Linked DNA regions of Homo sapiens: regions 2 and 3 are each linked to region 1. The links are contacts of gene promoters, found by promoter capture Hi-C in human tissues and cell types (Jung and others, 2019). All regions are on one chromosome and are shown on one strand. The core of a region is centred on a gene start or on the middle of the fragment in contact, and the rest is flanking DNA. Distances in the headings are between cores, read along the strand shown. Region 1 holds the start of CKMT2 (creatine kinase, mitochondrial 2). Region 2 overlaps ATG10 (autophagy related 10). Region 3 overlaps ATG10 (autophagy related 10).

What was found. Contacts are between HindIII fragments. The study calls those that stand out against the background at their distance.
Region 2: a contact is called between a fragment that was not itself captured here and the fragment with the promoter of CKMT2 in region 1, in 1 of the 25 tissues and cell types used here (spleen).
Region 3: a fragment that was not itself captured here is called in contact with the fragment with the promoter of CKMT2 in region 1 in 1 of the 25 tissues and cell types used here (lymphoblastoid cells).

What each region holds. Positions count from the first base shown.
Region 1 is chr5:81,230,878-81,235,857 of GRCh38, reverse strand. CKMT2 (creatine kinase, mitochondrial 2) reads right to left here and starts at 2,536. Exons shown (of 10, transcript NM_001099735.2): 1 at 2,481-2,536. The HindIII fragment of the contact is 7,118 bases long and covers 1-4,387 here.
Region 2 is chr5:82,252,083-82,257,062 of GRCh38, reverse strand. ATG10 (autophagy related 10) reads right to left here. Exons shown (of 8, transcript NM_031482.5): 6 at 4,404-4,501; 7 at 3,634-3,749; 8 at 930-2,995. The coding sequence ends at 3,638. Among named protein-coding and RNA genes, the nearest start is that of RPS23, 24 kb to the left of the region's middle. The HindIII fragment of the contact is 4,949 bases long and covers 268-4,980 here.
Region 3 is chr5:82,231,274-82,236,253 of GRCh38, reverse strand. All of the region lies in intron 5 of ATG10 (autophagy related 10), which reads right to left. Among named protein-coding and RNA genes, the nearest start is that of RPS23, 45 kb to the left of the region's middle. The HindIII fragment of the contact is 3,326 bases long and covers 717-4,042 here.

The DNA.
Region 1 (4,980 bases), core at 1,287-3,786:
GCGATGGGGAGGTGCAAGAGCACAGCCAGACAGAGCCAAAAGCAATAATATCCTGTTTGTTCCTACACTGCCCTCCGCATTAAAAAAACAACGACAGCTACATCAAGCCCTTTTGTTAAGTGGCCACAAGCTGTACATTTCTTGGTCCCAGGCAGGTATACTGGGAGTTCAGATCCTGGTCTTAATGCTCTTCTCTGGTTCTGTGACATCCTAGAATGTGAAGAGGAGGCCTTGGGTTCTGTCACTGCCTCCAGCCCGAGCCCCCTGCTCTTCCTGGGCATCCCGGATGGACCATGTCTGCCTTTCTGCTGACTCAGATTTATTTCTGGTCCAGCCATTCACAGCGTCCATGTGTCTGAACTCCTCAGCCAGAGGGCAGGTGGAAGGGCAGGAGGAGGACCACGTGTCAGCTTTCCATCCAGAGAGCCACCCCAAAACAGAGGATGTCCTTGGGCTTGGACCAGCTCCACAGAACACTCTGAACAAATTCTCACGATGCCAGGCTCCTAGGCCGCAGAAAATGCCTGTCTCCTCCCAGTTCTAAGATAGCAAAGGGTGTGCGTTACCTCAAAACCACTTAGTACGCAGCCAACCTTAATGGGCACTCTTGGCATTACTGTTCTACTCAGCAAATAGACAGTCCTAGGCAGGAAGGAGATATTTAGAATCCTACTCTGTAAAACAGAGGCCTTTCCTAGGCCTCCTGTGATGAAGGCATGGGACCGTTACCAGACTTTGTCCCTCAAGGGTAAATTGTTTTCAAGAAAACAGGAAGCTAGGAGCCATCTAGTCCTTTGAAGTGCTGTGAAGTGGGCTGCCTTCTTCCCCGCCCAAGGGAGGGAGTCTCTGAGGCTTCCTGGCAAGGGTTAGTGTGACCTCCAGCAGTCACCTTCAGCATGGGTTGCTGCTGGATTCCTGGCTCTGTGGGCAGGAGCTCCCAGAATGCTTGACACAGACTCTACGTGGCTTCCTTTGGGAAGACAAATGGAGCCTGCTGTAGGCTATGGCAGAGATGGAGGCCCAGGGCCTCTGAGCTAGGGGCAAAGTCAGTCTCCCTCCTGTGTCTGAAACCCCAGGACTCCCCATTCTGTATGGTACTCCCCCCGACCCAACCCACAGTTTCCTTAGGAAAACTGACCTGCCTATGGCCCATTTCCTAATGATATGATTTGGTCATGAGGCTGGCAGAGTCCATGGGGTGCATGTGGCACTCCTGTGCTTTGCTGTGACAGTGCCTTAACCCACAGGCGTGATTAACTCCAAAGTCTGGGGTCTTTGGAAAAGGTGCCTATCAATGCAGAGGAAGTGAAGTGCTCAGACCGCCAAACAAGGCCAAGAGCCTCCCGGAAGAGCCTGCCTGTCAGGAAGTCTCTGGCCACATGCTGTGGCCATGCTCGCCTCTATGAGAGGACAGAGAGAACAGACCAAGGACACGAGTTCAGAACAGAGAAAATGTGAGAGCCGTAGACAGGAAAAGCAGCCCTTCTGGAAACAGCACACTGGTGTACCTAGCGTAACCTTGTCCTGAGGGCCACTAACTGCCCCTCACTTGACTCAGCTGACACTGTGAGGGGTCACGAGCCTGGCAACACTTTCTGGAAGGTCTAAAGGGCAGCACTGAGGAGACCTAAAGGTTTTGGTCTGTTTGTCAAATGTCACTCTTCCTCACATTCGGAGGAGAGCATTTGAAGGCAGACCACTCTAGGGGCAAGAACAGGACTGATTTTAACCCCGGGACAACCAACCAAGCAAGCAAGCTAGTGAAGAACAGGCCTCTGCCCAGGTGAAACACGTGGGGCCAATTCCATAGGTTTTTTTTTTTTTTTTTTTTTTTTTAATTAACCTCCGGTGGGAAAGGTAAGGATGGTGGGGAGGGGAGACGGTTACTTGTCTCATTATCAATGTGTTAGTATTAGTGACGGCAAAACTGAATCTCTAGCAATACTATTTGCCCGTTTAAACTGGGCCTGGCTATTGGGCTTATGAGCAAATAGCTTCTCAAAATTTTAATTTTCTAGTTAGTTCATCCCAAGTCACTGATTTACATGTCTTTTGAGACTGAGACTGCTGGGGAAAAACATTCCCAGAAATGAGTGGATTAGACTCTGTGAATTACAAGGGAAAGACACTTTAAGTTTAAAGTTGTCCCAAACTTAGCGTCAAAATACAGCCTTTAGATTTTTTTTTCCATCGAGAAAAATTCCTGATTCACTACCAAAAAGAGGCCCTGCAGGCAGCGTGCTGATTTGTTCTGCTCCTGGTGCTGAGCTGCCCCCACCTGTGTGCAGGGAGGAGGGGTCGCTTCGGCCAAGGGCGGGAGCTCTGCTGGCTTTAGCGAGTCACCATTGCCTCCTCGCAGTCAGCGTCCTAACGGGGTCCCCGTCTACAGCCCGGCATCCACTCCTCCAAGGCCCTTCACACTGGCTCTAGCCATGACCCCTCTTTGGAGGAATAAAGCAGAGTTTCACGGACTCACCGACCTTGAAGCCGGAGCCTCCCACGTCCTGCTGAGCGCACACAGCCAAGAAGTGTATGCAGGGCGAGCTGGTCGGGCCGGCCTGGAAATCCTCCCTGGCGGGGCGGGGCCAGAGGACCTCACCAATCCCAGCGTAGACCTCCGGGCGCACCGGCCCCCACAGCTGTACCCTTGAAGGCAGGCCCGTGGGCGCTGGGCCCTTTATAGCACCTGCCCTTTCTCTGAAACGTAAAAGGCGGAGCCAGTCTTGCTTCCCAGGCCTGGTCCTGGAGGCTCCTTTGCCAGGGCTCTGGATCTCAGAATGGAAGGGCCAGCAGGTGAAATTGCACATCTGTTGGGGGATTTGTTTCTCTCTTCTCTCAGGTGTACCAGCCTTGGGGCCCTGGTGAGCTCTGGAGGATGAACCCCTCAAGCCAAGGTCGGAGAGGAGGATGTCTCAAGCTGCCTGGCTCCAGCAGCTGACCGGGCCCTGAGCCAGGGGCTGGAGGGACCTCCTTCCAGCGTCTTTGTCTGGGACCTGGATCCAGGGACAATTACAGTCAGGTTTCTGTTCAAGATCAGGCCCCCTGCAGTAGATGGCTAGATCATCTCGCTTTCTGTCCACACCAGCTTAACCCACGGCAGGCCATAGCCCTGCTTAAAAATAGCCCCGCTTGGGATATCCACCGCACGCCGGGAAGGCTGCCTGTAAATAGCAATGACCCAGCAGGATTTTGGACAGCAGCCCTGCCATTTCAAGGGAGCCTGCCTAGGCATCTGGTGACCGTCACGTACTCAGCTTCTGAGGCCACGTGGACATGACCAATTGGTTCCTGTCTCTTCCTTCTCAGAGCCCAGCTCATGCTCAGAGGACTTGATGGAGCAAGGGGTGGAGCCCCAGGAATAACCTTCTACCCAGTGTGGTTCTCCTTCATTCTCTGAAGGAGTTTCCATTTCTTTTAAACACGACCCATGTTTAAAAATATCATCTATTTTACCTTTGCATGGGGTACTGACAGGGAGAGCACGTGAGGGGGCCTTTTGGCGGGATGGGAAGTTTCCTGATTGGGGTGGTTATATAAAGATTGGGACCAATCAAATTAATTTCATAATCCTTTAAGGAGTCAAGACCCACCAGCTTGCATATTCTATCATCAGGGCAGTCTCGGTTTATTCCTTCTCAAAATAGCTCTTTTCCACACACACTTGTTTCAAGTCAGTTCAGGCACCAACTGAAATAAATCCATTGACCCTGAAATAGCCCAGCTCCCAGATCCAGAAAATTATAAGGCTTTTAAAGAGCATGGAATTGTAGATTTAAAGAATGGCAGTTATAGCAAAAACCTCCTTTTCCTCCCCAATTGCCTAATCAACATTTAGGGCCCCCTCCACTCACCCGACCTCAACACCTTATATTTTATAGAGTAAATGTTTATGTTAGTAAGGTCAGAAGAAAAATTGGGTCATTGTTGAGAAAAGAGGGTACCACCCTTCTTTTGGGGGACTGGTCCTCTTCAAGCTTATTATAAAGGTGGTGTGATGGGGATGAAATCTCTACAAGGGACTCACAGTAGAAATTCTGGCTTTCTGGAAATCTTTCAAATGCCATCCCTGTCACATGGCATCTATTCCCTTCTCATCGTTACCAACTCCTTTTGAAGCTCTGGGGCTCTAGCCACACCAGGCTGCCCTGTGGCTGGCTTCTGCCATAAGGGCAGGAACAGAATTGAAGTGTGCGACTGCCATATCATTTGCTTTAAAGGAAAATGTCCTGGACTTATTCTCTTTTCTGTTCCTGAGTCCAGCAGGAGTGTGGCTAGAGCAGGCCCCAGATTTGACCTCGAAGGCAAGGATGACGCCTTGTGGGATGAGCAAGTAATAGGATGAAAGGAACCTGGGTTCCTCTGTCGCACCAGCCTGGATTGCTCATTTCAGAATTGGGCAGGAGGGACCCCTTTCCTTAGTCTATTCTTGTGTCCAGCAACTGTAACTTAATTCCATCAGCTCTAAATGTTGCCACAACTTCATAGAAGTTAAAGTATTTTCATATATAGTAATCCATATAACCACTGCAGTTATTTTAGGGGTAGACAGGAGTCTTATTTCAGAAGCCCCTCCTAGGTGGAGCCTGGTGACTATTAGGCCAGGACTCTACCCTGGCGGCTTCTCCTCTCTCCACCACCCATTCAGGAGCGTTGAGCTGCTGTGCAATGGACTGAGCTGTTCCAGGTAGTAGTGAGTTCTCTGTGCCTGGAGGTATCAAATATAGGCTGGGGATGTCACAGGAAGAATCTAAGCACTGCAAAGAAAGTGTGATTAGTTGATCCTTCGTATCATTTCAAAGCTTTCCCCAAATTCTTTGAATTTTAGGGCCTCTTCTAAACTGTTTTTCTCCCTGAACTTTAGAAGTAATATTTAGAAGTAAATAATATATCTGAAGGAGTTCACTGCTATGAAGAAGATGTAAAATAAAAATAAAGCCCCTAGGCCCCCAAGCAAAACAAAACAGACTCATTGTGGTAAAA
Region 2 (4,980 bases), core at 1,493-3,992, 1.0 Mb before region 1:
TCCCCAGATCAGAGAGCGCTTGGCACTGGGGAGGGCTCAGACATACAATGAGGTGGAGAGGAGTAGGGATGCTAGTGTCGCTGAAGGAGCAGGTCATTATCCACTGTCACCCCTCACTCCATGTCTCACTGCCTTGGTTAAAGCACATTCAGTTTTATGTATCATTTTGATCTTCTCTATGCCCTTGTCAGGTAAGCAGCATAGATACTGTGGGCTTTATTTTTCAGAAATAGTTTAAGAAGGAAATAAGAAAATTGGCCCAAGTCACACAGCTAGCAGTTAACCAGCCTCACAGTTTAGATCTCTGGACTTCTATTTCACAGACCTAAAAATTCACGGTTGTCGCAAAAGACACATAGCTGAATTTCCCTATTTTACAAATAAAGAAACTGAGGACCACAGAGGTGAAGAAATTTTTCCAAGGTCACACAGAAGCAGAATTTAGGAGGTGAGCTGGAAGCGACTTTACCCAGCCTTATTTCTGATAGATGTTGTACATTATTTGAGGAAGCAGGGAGAAAAAATCCTCATATTGCCGAGAAAGAACAGTTACTTCAACAAAACCAAATATCTTCTAATGTTTAATAACTGTCAGGATAACATTCTGTTAGCATAACTGCATTTATAAAAATGGAAATTGTTATCAACCAAAAATTAGAAGTTTTTTAAGTGAAAAAAATTCTAGAAAGAAATCAAGCTGCTTGAGGAGATGGATCTATCTGGGAAGAAAGGCCTCCCCAGTCTACAGGAGCTCCTTGGAACTTTTTTCTGCCACTGATGAATTTTTAGGTCTTTGTTGATCAGAGAAAAAGTTGTATTTTTAACTTTTTTTAAAAAAAACTAAACATTGGCTCCAAACTGATAGACTCTCATCTCAGAATCTGTTAGCAAAGGATAACTAATGTTTGCAGACAAGAACACCATTCAGATGACACATTATTATAATTTATTTTACACTAGAAATGACATGGCTTGAGAAATGACTTGCTGAGAAATCTGTGTTTACATTAGGGAGATTGGGGGGAAAATCCCTCACAGAAGTTGAAAACATGCTAAGTGGTAAATACCAAAATGCCCAGCAAGCATTTAAGCCGGCTCTCATCCTAGCATGAATATGGGCAGCTCAGCATTTTAAAATTTACTTTTAGCTTTTCTAGCAGTTTGAATTAACCCTTTCTCTACTTCCACTTTCTCTGTGAGAGTTCAGCTCTTAATCTGCAGACGTGGACTGAGGGTGCTGTCACGGTGCTCGGTGATCCACTGGTGAATGATGTCCTCACCTGAAGCAGTTTCCTACAAGTGGGCTGCCTTGTGTACATGTCTCCTAAGCTTCCTTACTATCCATGTAAGGCCTAGACAAACATTAGGAAGCAAGTTCAGCTTGTATGGATTGGAAAAGGCCTGTCAGTAGAGCAAAACAATACAAATCAATGTCACAATAAAGGTATATCCAGACCAGAGGTTCTCCAGAGCAGAATCACCCCCAGAGAGACTGTGTCAGGTGGCCCCAGCATCTGTAGCTGTAAACGATCCTCAGGTGATTTTAAGTATATCCCTCATTCAAAGACACACTAATCTAGACTCTCTAAAAAGCCAATGACATTTTAATCTTCGTTTCAGCTCCTAGCAAATGAAAGCAAAAAACAAAACAAGCAACCAAAAAAAAAATTGTTCCAGGTTAGGTTTATCTTAATACTTAACTGGCTATGAAACTTATTTACAGCCTTAGTGAATACCAATTATATACAAGAAAGGTGAGCATTTAATGAATATTCGTATAATACTTTACAATATCTTATCATGCATTAATGATCTCATGTGGTTCTCACAGCAACCCTATGAGGTAGCTTGTTAGTTTCAAATTAAAGATGAGGAAAATAAGTCTCAGGGACATGAAGACTCGCTCAAGAGCCCTCAAAGAGTACAGCAGAGCAGCTGTGGGGTTGAGAAGCAGAGGGGTAAAATGACCATTGTTTTATTACTATAGGTCAAAAAGAAATTTTAATGTTTAAATATCTCCTATAGCTTTTTAGAAAACTTCTAATTACTATGCCACACTTTGCTGGTAAAACATATTATCTCACAGTAAAATATTGTGTTTTTTCTTTGTTTTACAACTATCTACACAAACACCCACACATACACACACACACACACACACACTCACACTCACTCTCTCTCTCTCTTTTGGAGTAAAACAGAAATAATCTATTGTTCCTGAGTTTGATTGTGGGAAAATCACTTAAGATAGGTCATGTTTATAACACCAGTTTCAGGGACAGGTAAATCCAGTAATTTAATTTTTATATATCTTACATTAAAATGAACACACAAATACATTTCTCCCTCAATCTCCATGTCAGACAAATGGAAGTGAAGTACTTGGCCTAGAAAAGAATAACCTGCAAGTGCCCTAATAATGTTGGTATTCCTAGTATTAATAAGTTAGATTTGTTTTTTTGCTATTTATAGTGATGTGTCTTTTTTTTTTTTTTTTTTTCCCCGAGACAGTGTCTGGCTCTGTCACCCAGGCTGGACTGCAGTGGCACAGTCTCAGCTCACTGCAACCTCTGCCTCCTGGGTTAAAGCCAACCTCCCACCTCAGCCTCCTGGGGAGCTGGGACTACAGGAACACACCACCATAAACAGGCAAATTTTTGTATTTTTTTGTACCGACAGGGTTTCACCATGTTGCCCAGGCTGGTCTCGAACTCCCAGGATCAAGTGATGCTCCCACCTTGGCCTCCCAAAGTGCTTGGATTACAGGTGTGAGCCACCATGCCTGGCCATGATGTATCCCTTTGAAGTGTTTCTTCTAAACATTCAGCCTATCAAACACCAGTTGCTGTAGACATTTGTGTCCAAGGGAAAAATAATCCATGTCACATCTTGGTGAGATGAAATATTCCATGGTATCAGTCCTATTAAAGCCAGGGCTGGCCAGGTAAACTCTTGGCATTCTTCGTGCCGCAATTCCTAAACTCAATAGAAGAATCTGAAGAACATAAAACAAAAGCCAAGAGAATAAAAGAAAAATAACTGAGCAGTAAAGACTTATTTAAGAATATCAGTACTAAAATAAAACTATCCATTCCTGTCACTGAGTGCATGCTACTTACAGCAAAGTAAAATATTTCCTGAATTGGTGGCCCCCAACCTTTTTGGCACCAGGCACCAGTTTCAGGGAAAACCATTTTCACAGACCGAATGGGAGATGGTTTCAGGATGAAACTGTTCCACCTCAGATCATCAGGCATTGGTTAGAATCTCATAAGGAGCGCGCAACCTAGGTCCCTCAGATGCGCAGTTCACAATAGGGTTCACATTCCTATGCAGATCCAATGCTGCAGCTGATCTGATAGGAGGAAGAGCTCAGGTGGTAATGCTCGCTTGCTTGCCCACCCAGCTGCCGCTCACCTCCTGCTGTGAGGCCTGGTTCCGGTCCATGGCCTGGGATTTGGGGATCCCTGTCCTAAATAACTTGGTAGGGGACTGATTGGAAAACTAAAAATTAAGTCAGGGTTTGCCCACTAAAGATGAAAGCAAATTTTGCATTTGGTGGGATGAGTCTAAATGCAATGGAGACATTGATCTTTGTAACGGCAAAACATTAAATCCAGGCTTTTCTTTTACCTTGTTAAGGGACATTTCGTTCATCCTGAGACGTTGCTTTGGCATAACTCAGAGGTAGATTCAGCCCAACAACTGGCCCTACAATGCTCAGCCATGATGTGATATAGTTGACATTCCTAGGAAACAAGTGAAATACAGGCCATGCTAACGTTTCCATTGTAGTTTTTGGATGAATGGTAGAACATCAGTTGGTCACCAACAATAACAAAAGTGAGGCTTTCTTCAAAGATTTGTACCTACCACCTGGAATCTCAGCATTTCTGAATGCCAGCCCCATTGCTTGACAAGAATTTAAGGTCCAGAGAGCCTGTAAGGATCCCTCATTAGGGTAGTTGAAGAATGAGGTAAGGTACTGGCTCCTGACTTCCCTTGATGATTCAAATTTTACCCTTACAGTTTACAGCACTTACTAAGGTAGCAGAGTGCAGTGATTAAGAGCATGGTTCTGAGGCCAAAATGCTTAGATTCAAATCCCACCACTTAACTAGCTGTGTGACCTTGTTTGAGTGGCTTAACTCCTCTGTTCTGTAACTTCCTCCTCTGTAAATTGGGCAAAATAATAGTACTTAGCACATAGGAATGCTGCAAAAATCCAATGTCTTACTGTATCTAAAACTCTTAGAACAGCATCTAGCATATCCTAAAAATCATTGTGTTAGCCATTATTATTATTAATATTTCTTTTTTAGCCTAGCATTTAGAGTCACATAAAAAGATTTACACTTTTAAAATCAGAGTAGAAGCCAATGTATCTTGATGGTGTTTCTTACTTATTGATTTTCTGAGAATTCTTTAATACAGGAGTCATGAATTCATTCGTCTTGCAGGGATGAAGTACAAAAAAGGGTTGCCCAAGTATTGGATGTTCCTGTAAGAATCAGAATTGGTCCAGGATCAGTGTGAGTTACTTTGAAAAGGCTAAAATAATTTATCTGGTTTACTCCTTTAAAATAAAGGTTTGTCTCAAATTCCAAGTTATTGAATTAATATACAGGTTTATTTTCTATTTTTAAAAACAATTTATAATCCAAACATCAGAAGAAGTTGGTGAGAAAGGACTATTCATTGATAAAGCAGTATGGTCGAGTATAGCAGGGCACCCATTTTTGTTTACACAATATAAACTGTAGTTGCATTTTATCAGTTCCCTCTCTGTTGGCCAGTGTTTCTCTTTGGCCTATCATTATTCTTCAGTTTTTCTTCAAGGATGTTCACAAAGCTCAGTAGTTTGACAACCTAAACAATTCATTTTATTCACCTCTTTGTCAATGGTAAGAGACTCAAAATCATTTGCATATTTCTTTACACAAATTTTGTCAACATGTTGTTTCAAGCCTACATGTATCC
Region 3 (4,980 bases), core at 1,130-3,629, 1.0 Mb before region 1:
ATAAAGCTTGCTGGGGGAAAATCAGGAGCTTATGTAAATGTCTATTAATTAAACAGTCACGGCTGCACAACTAGGTCAGGCATGATGATAAGACTGAACAACCCACCCCAGCCACCAGCCTCAAGAAGAAGAAATGAACATTTAGTCCTAATAGCACTTGTTGCGTTTTATAAAGAGTCTTAAATTGTAATATTCCCTAACACAACAAGAGTAGCATCTTTCAGACCATCCTCAAATAATTCTTTGATAGAACATAAACTTATTAGAGTCAACAGCCAAAAACAAAACAAAAAAGCAAGCCAATTACTAATGAAGAACTTGTAAAAAGCTAATCAAAGCTCTCATCCAGAGAAAATGAGAAAATCTGAGGCTCAGAATGATTTTGTATATTGATGAGATTTTATATAGCGTCATAGAGAGAAAAATAAAACAGATTTAAGTGAATACAAAAAGGATTCCAAGTCTCTATTTAAAAGCCTTGTTATGTTCCAAGTCAATGTTTTCATTAAAATGTTTTGTTCCAGTAAAAACATCCACTTTAAAAAAATGCCTGACAGGAGGTGCTGTCAGTAGAGGATACTGTCAATTTCTCTGTCTCTCTAGTCAAACCCCTGCAAGTGCAGAAGGGCAGAAAGAAGAATGTTTATTCGGCCCTCACCTGAGGGTGACAGTGTGGTGGATAATGGAGAATAGAGGACCACAATCATTTTTCTCCATGTCAATGGAAAAAACAATTATTTTGTTTGTTTGTTTTGAGAATAAAAAACCTAGTCCAAAGATATAGAGAAGAATCCCAAGAAGGATGTCAGATTAAAGATAAAGAGACAGAGAAGAAAACAGTGGGAGTAAAGTCTGAGGAGAAGTAAGCAATACAAAAGCAGAGCAGATTTCTCAGTGTGATCCCAGGACCATCAGAATCATTTGGGGTTGCTTGTTGACCATGTCATTTCCTGGAACCCACTCCAAATCTGTGATCAACTCCCAAGGCAATGCTCATGCTCACTAAAGATTGAGCACCACCTGCTTCCCTAGGGGAAAAGGCTAGCTTTCTCCAGCATGAATAGAGGAAAGGAAAGAAGAGAGTCATAATGATAGCTGATTCCAGAAGGAAACACAAGGCACGTGGTTTCTGACAGCACCCTCCCCGCCACTGCAAAATAGGAGGCACACCCATCCCCTAGGAGTCTGTGCAGATCAGGTAATTCACGTGTGTGATGCATACTCCAGGGGCGTGCCAGGAAAGCAGAGAGAAGAACTGATGGGCGTAATTAAAGTGGAACAGCACAAACATACTATGGGCTACAAATTACATGTTTATAATTAGTTTAAATTATAAATGCTGCATTTTTCTCCAGTAATACTTTGTTGTCAAAAAAGAATGCAGGAAAGAATTAGGCAGCAAAGCACCTAATGTGTGGGTGATAAGCTTATCAGGGAAGGTGAGTCTGAGCTAGACTGGGTATTCCCTCTAAAAGGGAATCACACAAACAAGTGTATGAACTGAACATTTACTAGGATTCTCCCTAAATTCTAATAATAATACTAAGAGGTTGACATATAATTATTGTAAAGATAAGGAAACTGGGGTTTAGAGATGCCAATTAACTTGCCCAAGGTCATTTAACTTGGAGGTTTGATTTCAAAGTCCCTGATTTACTTTCCAAATCTTTTCAGAGCTAGCGTGACCTTCAAATATACACAGAGGAAATGACACTCAATTTCTAGCATGTCTCTCTACCTGTCCCTTTCCTGAGGTAGTCTGGGGTGTGAGATGCACACATGGGCAATGGGGTTCAAGGTACGAATCTAGGGCAGGGTTTTACGGATGAGCCCAGCAGTGGTCCTGCACACCAGGTACCCTAAGCCCTGCTTCTGCAGGGTGGGCCCTGATACCTGCTCAGTGCTGAGGGCTGTGGGAAACAGAGCAGATGAAGGGTCTCTCCCCCAATATGCTACTTTAGTTTAAGGACTATTTTGAGCTAAAGGTAATTCAAACGCAGCAAATTCAGAAAGAGCTCTTTACCCTCCCCCATCTGCCTAAAAGTATGACATAAACTTCTCTTTGTGAAGGTGTTCCCCTCCCGTCTCCCATACCTGGAACAGATCATCCAGGTATCACCGGACACAGAATGTTGGCACTGAGATGGGTCTGCACAAACAAATCTTACTAAAATCGCCCTTATCTTCCATTAGTTTCTCCTCATATTTACATTCTTATAATCTGTGCCCCTGGAAGCCCAAATCCCTTTTGCTTCCTCTTGTGACTTCTCCACAAATGTATCACCCTTTGTTAAAATGGTGTATAAGCTGCAGGGTCTAACTGCTCCTCTGAGTCTCCATGCCTTTTCTGTAAGGGCACGTAAAAACTAAAATGTTAAATCAAGTAAAATTTGTATGGCTTTTCTCCTGCTAATCTGTTTTTTGTCAATTTAATTTGCAGGCCCTAGGCAGTCAATTAGAGGGTAGACAGAAAAGTTTTTTTTCTCTCCCCTATATAGTAAGAAAGTTGGGGACAGAGAGATGACAGGTAAGGAAGTTGAGGGCAGAGGGGCCTGGGCCTTCTCTGGAACTGCTCTATGTTAACTGCAAAATGATGGAGCATCTGTACCTGGAATTCAAACATGGCACTGGTTCATTTAACTTAGAAGGTCCATGAGGGATAGTCCCATGGGCTGGCAATGCCATCATGTGATTATGGGTTCAAACTCTCACTCTTTCGTTTAAAGCAGTGATGATTAAGATGCTGTAAGAGGGTAAACAAGACCTCAGAGGCACATTTTAAAATTGGAGCCACACAAATATAATATAAACGAAGGAACAATATATTCCTGGGATAATCAGAAGTCAGAAATTTTTATTTTTCAGTTTAAATTAACAGATAATAGACTGCTTCTGGGTTATTAAAGGAAGAAATGTGTTGAAAGGGCAATTCGTTAGTCATTTTTAGGCTCAGATCAGAACATTGGTGATGGTGTCAGACAGTAGAGGTACAGGTTCAGTCAGGTATAACATAGGTGTCTAATGTGATAGGAAAAATATTATCTAGTTAGATGTTACACAAGTGACTGAAAAACTAGAAAGTGAATGTATAAAATGAAGAAAATATACCTGAAAAATACTACCAAAACAAGTGATATATTTCCTAATTAGTCTTATGTAAAGACATCAGCCCTAATTCTTTTTGTATATTTTTAATACTTTCAAAGTCATATTTTAAACCTGAAGAAGAACATTTCAGGCAGAAAGATATAAGAGTAAAGACCATTAGAAGGGAGTGAACTAGATGTGTTCAAGAGCAGAAAGGAGGCTGTAAGGCTGGAATATTGGGAGAGAGAGAAGACAGCAGAAACCCTGAAGCTAGAAAGGAAGGCAGAGTCCAGTGGCTTGATAGCCCTGGGGAGAGAAGGAAGCTGCCCTCCTGCACTTACTTTAAATACAACAGAAAGTTTTAAGTGCTTTATGACAGAATCTGTTATTCACTTAAAAAAAAATGTTGGCTGCTGGGTGGAGAATGAAGACAAGAAGAGAAAAGAAAGCAAAAGAGGCAGGAAGGAAGCTACCATGAAAGCTACTGTATCAAGAAAGAAGGGGCTTGATTAGGGTGAAGACAGTAAAGATGGAGAAAAATAAATGGATTTGAGATATATTGGTGACTAGAAGTTCCAGGGATTGCTATTAGATTGGGATTAAGAAAAAATCCAAGCTATGCATTAATATATATTACCCAACTATATTTTCACAATTCTATAAAGTAGGTATTCTTCCCATTTTGTAGAAATTTATTTGGAGGAATGGCTTATCCAAGGTCGTGGAATGTATAAATGATTGAGCCAAGACTTATGTCCAGATCTAAGAACAAAATTGAGTTTTTCCAATGCCAAGCCTGCTAAGACTAAATACAGAACTTCAGTATGAAACAACTTTCAGGTGGTACGTTTATTCTATTTTTATCTTAAAGTAAAACAATTGGAAGCCTGCACTTTCCAAGCATTAATTCTTTACTTTTTTTCTTCCATTACATTACAGAATGGTGACAATTTTTGACTTAAGTCTATTTCTGAGACACACACTAAACCAAGGACACCACTTTTGAGCTAGGTGTGTTGCGGCACACCCCTGTAAATCAGCAACCAGAAAATTCAAAGATTTCCAAGAATACATTCACAAAACCAGCCTAATTTATTGATAACCAGATACTTATGTCTGGCAACTATCGCACAGGAAGATATTTTATGAGCAACACAAAATAAAATAGCAATCTATTACCTATCATTACTTTTTAGAATGGTGCCAAATATTATTTTAAAGCAACAGAAAAGAGATGAATCTTCAAGATGATTTTTAAAATACTATAATGCTTCTCTTTAGATAAATATAATCAGTATAAATTTCTAATACTCCAGTTACAGCTATAGCTCCTGACAGTTTTTTTCCTTTCTGCTTCTTACCCAACTTTGAAAATATAAGGATTCCTTTTATACCCAGAAGCAGATTTCCCAGTGATTTCATTAAGCTAAAATTAGTTTTTCTCTTTAGCTCTCTCCAAAGAGACTCCATGAAGAAAACTCATAAGCATGCGATAATCCCATTACAAAATATGTGATTCTCCTTCTCATAACGAAAAATGTTAAAGATCTGCCCTATAAAAACCTGGCTACTATGAGGCATTTTCCCCACTTTCTAGAATACTAATAATTTAAAACTAAATAACAAAAAACTATGCTACTAATAGGCTGCCGTATTGAGAAATCATACGCTCCTACAAATAAACATAGTAATAGAGCTTTTCAGACAACCATTGTATTATGGTGTTTTGCAAGTAAGGTATTAGGGGAGACAAATAAACTGATACATATGGACAAGAATGACAACTTCTTATTTTTAAAAAGTGTTTTATTAAAACTTTAAGCAACTTAATAATGTCAAGATTTTTAAAAAGTATAGTCTAATCCCACTTCCTGATCATATCAATTTCTTACA